2 separate regions of the Homo sapiens genome follow, and region 1 is linked to region 2. Evidence: promoter capture Hi-C in 16 types of primary human blood cells and fetal thymus (Javierre and others, 2016). All regions are on one chromosome and are shown on one strand. The core of a region is centred on a gene start or on the middle of the fragment in contact, and the rest is flanking DNA. Distances in the headings are between cores, read along the strand shown. Region 1 holds the start of LOC124902546 (a long non-coding RNA gene). Region 2 holds the start of TFAM (transcription factor A, mitochondrial).

What was found. Contacts are between HindIII fragments. The CHiCAGO score rates a contact against its expected background, and 5 or more counts as called.
Region 1: a fragment that was not itself captured here is called in contact with the fragment with the promoter of TFAM in region 2 in 1 of 17 cell types (non-activated CD4 T cells); the score reaches 6.6 in non-activated CD4 T cells.

Annotation. Positions count from the first base shown.
Region 1 is chr10:56,361,378-56,364,673 of GRCh38, forward strand. LOC124902546 (a long non-coding RNA gene) reads left to right here and starts at 82. Exons shown (of 2, transcript XR_007062372.1): 1 at 82-479; 2 at 2,648-3,296. RefSeq lists an enhancer at 1-331 and a silencer at 1-149. The HindIII fragment of the contact is 811 bases long and covers 1,260-2,070 here.
Region 2 is chr10:58,384,160-58,387,172 of GRCh38, forward strand. TFAM (transcription factor A, mitochondrial) reads left to right here and starts at 1,251. Exons shown (of 7, transcript NM_003201.3): 1 at 1,251-1,489; 2 at 2,061-2,179. The coding sequence starts at 1,389. RefSeq lists enhancers at 702-801, 995-1,651 and a silencer at 932-1,311. The HindIII fragment of the contact is 8,486 bases long and covers 1-3,013 here.

The sequences.
Region 1 (3,296 bases), core at 415-2,914, 2.0 Mb before region 2:
GGCGCGGATTCGCTCGTTGGCGGGCCTCGCTGCTTGGCGCAAGCGCGGTTATGGCTAGGCGCGCACGGGCTCTGCGCCTGCGCGCTAGTCCTTACGCGGTGCCAGAGACTATAAGTGGGCTTGAGCTCGACCGCGCGCCTGTGGAAGTTCTTTCTCTACTCGAAAAAGGGAAAGCATTTCCTTGAGTTTGCGTTTTAAGGGAAACTTACAGCATTGACACTTTATTTAAAATATTCACTACTGCTGTAGAAAAAAAAAAACAAAACCCCGAAAAACAGTGGGGCTGTTTCTAAGACGCTGGGAATCAGTAAAGAATAGTGATCCGGGAGATACAGGAAGCAAATGATCTGCGCTCAAAAAGCGAGCTGCTTTCAAAGATATTAGTATTTTATAGATGCGATGCAGGAGAGTGAACTCAAGCAGAGCCCAGCCGATTGCCTGCGTTGGCAAAATAGAACAGATATTCTGGGGAGACCAAGGTAGGTAATGTTCTTTGCAGAGTACAGGAGAAAGATAACTGCTGAGAGAGAACTTGGTATTCATTCAGCTGAGTACTGAGCAGTATGTGTCTCAAGAAACTAGCTAAAAGATTTTTAAAGATACCAGGACATGGCCGGTCGCGGTGGCTCACGTCTGTAATCCCAGCACTTTGTGAGTCTGAGGCAGGTGAATTACGAGGTCAGGAGTTTGAGACCAGCCTGGCCAACATGGTGAAACCCCCGTCTCTACTAAAAGTACAAAAAAAATTAGTTGGGCGTGGTGGTGGGCGCTTGTAATCCCAGCTATTCGGGAGGCTGAGGCAGGAGAATTGCTTGAACCAGGGAGGCTGAGGTTGCAGTTAGCCGAAATTGCGCCACAGCACTACAGCCCTGGTGACAGTGCGAGACTCCGTCTCACAAAAAAAAAAAAATACATATATATATATATATAAATATATATATATGGACATTACAGAGGGTCAGAAATAGTCTCTATTTCCACTAACCAGGCTGGAAAACTTCATAGTCCGTAGGACACTGGACAGAGTACACACAAAAAAGTCTTGATTTGATAGTTGTTTACTAATTATTTAGTAGGCAGTAATTAGTCCTAGCTGATCAGTGCTGTAGTGCCATCTAACTCTTAAAAGTAAGACCCAAATGGATCAAACTTAACAAACCATGACAGATGACAAGACCAAACTTCAGCAGTATTTATAGAAATAGAAAAATGTTCACCAAAGGTGCAATTTACATATGTCATACAAAGAAAAATTACCAAGCTTGCAAAAAGAAAAAAAAAAACACATAATGAGGAGAAAAATCAATTGCTGATCAGAACTGAAGTAATGTTAGAATCAACAGGCAAGGACATTAAAACAGTTATTGTAACTATATCCCATATCTTCAAAAAGATATCAGAACTATAATGAAAAAGGTAAGTGGTGCTAAGGATGTAAAGAAAGTGGAATTCTCATGTTGATGGAAATGTAAACTGGTGCATAGGCTTTGAACGTAGGGTTACCATATGAGTCACAATTTCATTCCTAGTTATATATCCAAGACAAATAAAAACATGGGGACACAAAAGTACACAAACCTCTATAGCAGCATTATTCACAAAAGCTGAAAGGTAAAAACAACCCAAAGGCCCATTAGCTGGTGAGTGAAAATGCATACTTTCATTCAATGAAGTATTAATCAGTAGTAAAGAGAACTTTATTACATGCTAAATAATGGTTACTACATGCTAAAATATGAACCTTGAAAATATACTAAGTGAAAGAAGCTAATTACAAAAGACCACATAATATATTATTTCATTTATGTGAAATGTCTAGATTTGACAAATCTATAGCAACAGAAAGTAAATTTATATAGTGCTTGTCCAGGGCTGGGGATTGGTGGGAATGAGAGGTTGAGAGAGTATGGGGAGGGACTGCAAATGGATATAGTGTTTCTTTTAAAGGGATAAATAAAATGTTCTACACTTCGGTTATGGTGAAGGTTGTACAATTCTATACAGAAAACCGCTAAATTTACACTTTACTGCTGTCATAAAAGCTGTTAAAAAAGTTAATCAAAGACACAAAGCTTGTAATAAAGACCTAAATCAAACTTGTAGAGGTGAACACTACAATGTGATAGATGGAATTAGATGGTATTAATATAGTATGTTACACATTGCAGAATGAAAGTGAAACACAGCTCTAGAGAAACTACCCAAAATCAATCACAACATTAAAAAATGAAAATAAAGTAACATGAACAAATCAATGGTGAGCTGTGAGACAACTTCTAACAGCCTAATAATATACTTGAAAGTGGAGTCTCAGAGAGGCAAGGGGAGAGGACAAGAAAACAAGTAATAAAGACCAAAAAATTTGAAATGTGATGAAAAATATAAATTCATATATTCAAGAAGCTTCACAAATCTCAAACACAAGAAATATTAAGAAAATGACATCAAGTTATACCATAATTGCATAACTCAAAACCATTGATAAAAAATTCTAAAGTAATAAGGGGTGTTGGGGCACATGTTACATAGAAACAAAGATAAGGATTACGGGAAATTTCTTCTTGGAACAATGCAAGCAAGACAGTAGAGTAACATCTTTCAAGTACTGTAAGAATAAAAAAAAGTCAACCTTGATTTCTGTTTCCAGCAAACAGCTTTCAAAAATGAAGACTAACTAGGCTGGATGCAGTGGCTCACACCTATAATCCCAGCACTTTGGAAGGCCGAGGTGGGCAGATCACGAGGTCAGGAGATCAAGACCATCCTGGCTAACACAGTGAAATCCCCCGTCTCCACTAGAAATACAAAAATTAGCCAGGCGTGGTGGCGGGCACCTGTAGTCCCAGCTACTCGGGAGGCTGAGGCGGGAGAATGGCATGAGCCTGGGAGGTGGAGGTTGCAGTGAGCCAAGATCGTGCCACTGCACTCCAGCCTGGGTGACAGAGCAAGACTGTCTCAAAAAATAAATAAAAATAAAAAAGAAGGCTAACTAAAGACATTCTTAAACACACAAAAATGGAAGGAAATTTTCAGCATAAGATCCCACATGAAACAAGAAGTTCTTCAGGCAGAATGAAAATGGCATTAGCTTCAAATCTGAATGTATACAAAGGAGTGAAATGTGGTCCTGGCTACTTAGGAGTCTGAGGTGGGAAGATCACTTGAGCCCAGTTCAAAGCTGTGATGAGTTGGTCATGCCATTGCACTTCAGCCTGGGTAACAAAGTGAGACCCTATCTTTAAAGGAAAAAAAATTGTGATGTGGGTTTTATAACATATGTAAAAGTAAAATGTAGC
Region 2 (3,013 bases), core at 1-2,500:
TTCCATGCCAGAATGGGAGGTTTGAACAGATGACTTGGAAGGTCCCTTTCAACCCTGGGAGTCTATAAAAGGGAAGTGGTTATTACCGCTTAAAAGAAGAAGTAGGCTTAGTCCTACTTCCAGAGAGCCAATGTTTTCATAGTTACAGAAAGGTAAATAGACTGTCAGCTCAATATGACACTGGTAAGAATTTTCTAACAATTACGGCTATCCAACAGAAGAAAGGCTGTCTCAGAAGGTGGTTAGCTCTGAAACAACTGGTATTTAAGGGCTGGAAGGACCCTTAGGTATCTTTAGGTCTTCCTAATCTTTTTCATGCCATTGCCTATACAGAAAATGGTATTTCTATAACACAAATAAAAAAATTATACAGCAATTTTTGACACATCAATGTCTCAAGGCATACTTGTCACACGTTCTCAGGGCTTTGGCTGGGAAAACTGATTTAGTCTAACATCCTCGTTTGCAGAGGGGGAAACTGAATCTTAACGAGGGAATGCAATATTCCCAAGTCAAGACGTTAATGTTAATACTGGAACTAGAAGAATTGAGACTAGCGACTGTGGACAACTAGCCAGTTTCCTCTGCTCAAATTAAGCAAGCTGGAGGCCAGACTGAAAGACTGCAGTAGATGGTAGAATAAACAGTCTAAAGCTATATTGCTTTAAATGTGGTCTCAAGACCACCGACATTAGAACTTGTTAAATTCTGGGGAACTCGCTAAAATGAAGATTAATGGGCCCCACATAGACACACGGAATTAAGCTCTGCGGTAAGGCCTTGGAATCTGCATTTTTAGGTTTGCGAATCCCCGCCTCTCCCGTTACTATTTCTGAACTCCGAGCTCCAGCCCTGGCTTGAACTGAGACGCTCCGCTGGGCGCGCAGCAGCCGCCGATCGGACCTCGGGGTCCTGGATGCAGGACTGTCTGTTACGTACAGCCCTTGTGACCGTCACGGGCGGACACCGGCCAACGCCGGGTTGGGGTGAGGCCGCCGCCGCGGTCCCTCCATCACCCTCCTGGCCCGGCAGAGGAACCCACTGCTCCGGGCGGCCGGGGACAGAGGTGGCTCAACAGCGCCGCCTCGAAGCCAGAGCCCTCCGCAGGCTAGAGGATTGCGGTTTCCCTTCATCTCCGCGGCTCTTATTCCTCCCCCGCAAGGCCGCCCACCGGGGTACGCTCTCCCGCGCCTGCGCCAATTCCGCCCCGCCCCGCCCCCATCTACCGACCGGATGTTAGCAGATTTCCCATAGTGCCTCGCTAGTGGCGGGCATGATAACACACGCCGGAGGGTCGCACGCGGGTTCCAGTTGTGATTGCTGGAGTTGTGTATTGCCAGGAGGCTCTCCGAGATTGGGGTCGGGTCACTGCCTCATCCACCGGAGCGATGGCGTTTCTCCGAAGCATGTGGGGCGTGCTGAGTGCCCTGGGAAGGTCTGGAGCAGAGCTGTGCACCGGCTGTGGAAGTCGACTGCGCTCCCCCTTCAGGTAGGCCCGCTTGCCTGTGCCCTAGGGGCAGCAGGGCCCAGGACGTCCCGGGGTTGGAATGTAGACCCTATCCTTCACTTTCTGCCCCTCCTAGGAGTTCAGAGTCACCCTGGTTCTTTGATTCAGACCGCGACCTTGCCAAGGGGACGGTGGCCTTGAGACCAGGCCTTTATTTACTCTCTTAATACGCCGTACCTTCTTGCTACCCTCCACTCGCTTCTCCCATCCCTCCTCACTGTCCAGCTTTGGATCCTTTCCGCCTCCTCTGCGAATTCGCGCCGAGTCTCCGGCCATCATCTAGGCATTGAGGAGGCGGGGCCCAGGAGCTGGAGTATAGACGCTTTCCTTCACTCCCTGCCCTTCCTAGGAGGTAAGGGCTTTGAGACTTCAGTCCTGCAGACGCTCCCCTCCGTTTAGGACAGGGTTTTAATAAGTCTCTAGCATTCTTGTTGAAGGCGTTGGATACATAGTATCTTGATGACATTTCTTATTTGGGATCTGTGTTCATATACATGTGAATATTGACAGTTAAACATCTGACACTGGTTATTTTCTTTTTGTTTATATGTAGTTTTGTGTATTTACCGAGGTGGTTTTCATCTGTCTTGGCAAGTTGTCCAAAGAAACCTGTAAGTTCTTACCTTCGATTTTCTAAAGAACAACTACCCATATTTAAAGCTCAGAACCCAGGTAAGGAGTTTTGGGGCATATACCCTTTTCTCATGTAATAAAAATGCCATTAAGCAGTTAAATACCAATGTTGAATTGCAGTGCTAAAGCATTCAGTGACTGCAGGAACAATCATTTGATGTCTGTAAAATAGGAAGTTCTATTTTATACCAAATGGAAATGCTTTAAATATAAATGAGAACTAGTAAATGGTATTTTAAAAATAACGTATAGTGTAGAAAGCACCCTAGGAAGAGGATAAAAAAGCTGAATTTGGGGCCTTGTTGCCTTTGGTCTAGAGGACCACTGATGAATTATTTTCTCTTGCCTAGCTCCTCCTTTTTCTGGCTCAGGGAATTGTTAATAAAGTTGCAACTTCTGTGGAAGCATCCATAAACTGTAAGTTCTGTAGAACTGTAAAGTTCTATGCAATTTACTGCTAATTTCAAGAGCTTTCAAGATAAGAAAGGATAAACCTTTTCATCATAGGAGTTCAGAGCCACTCTGGTTCTTTGATTCAGACCTCGACCTTGCCAAGGGGATGGTGGGTTGTAAAGGATAAATCCTTTCTTGTCTTGGGTTCCTAAAAAAAAAACATTTCCAGGTAGGATGTTTGTTGACTCTCTAGAAAGCCTCTCGGCGAGAATAAAAAATGCTCACATCAGGCTGGGTGAGGTGGTTCACACCTGTAATCCCAGCACTTCGGGAGGTCGAGATGGGTGGATTGCTTGAGCCCAGGAGTTCGAGAACAGCCTGGGAAACATGGAAATCCTGTCTCTACCAAAAATACAAAAATGAGGTGGGCATGGGGGCGCAGTGCCTGTAGTCCCAGCTACTTGGGAGGCTGTGGTGAGA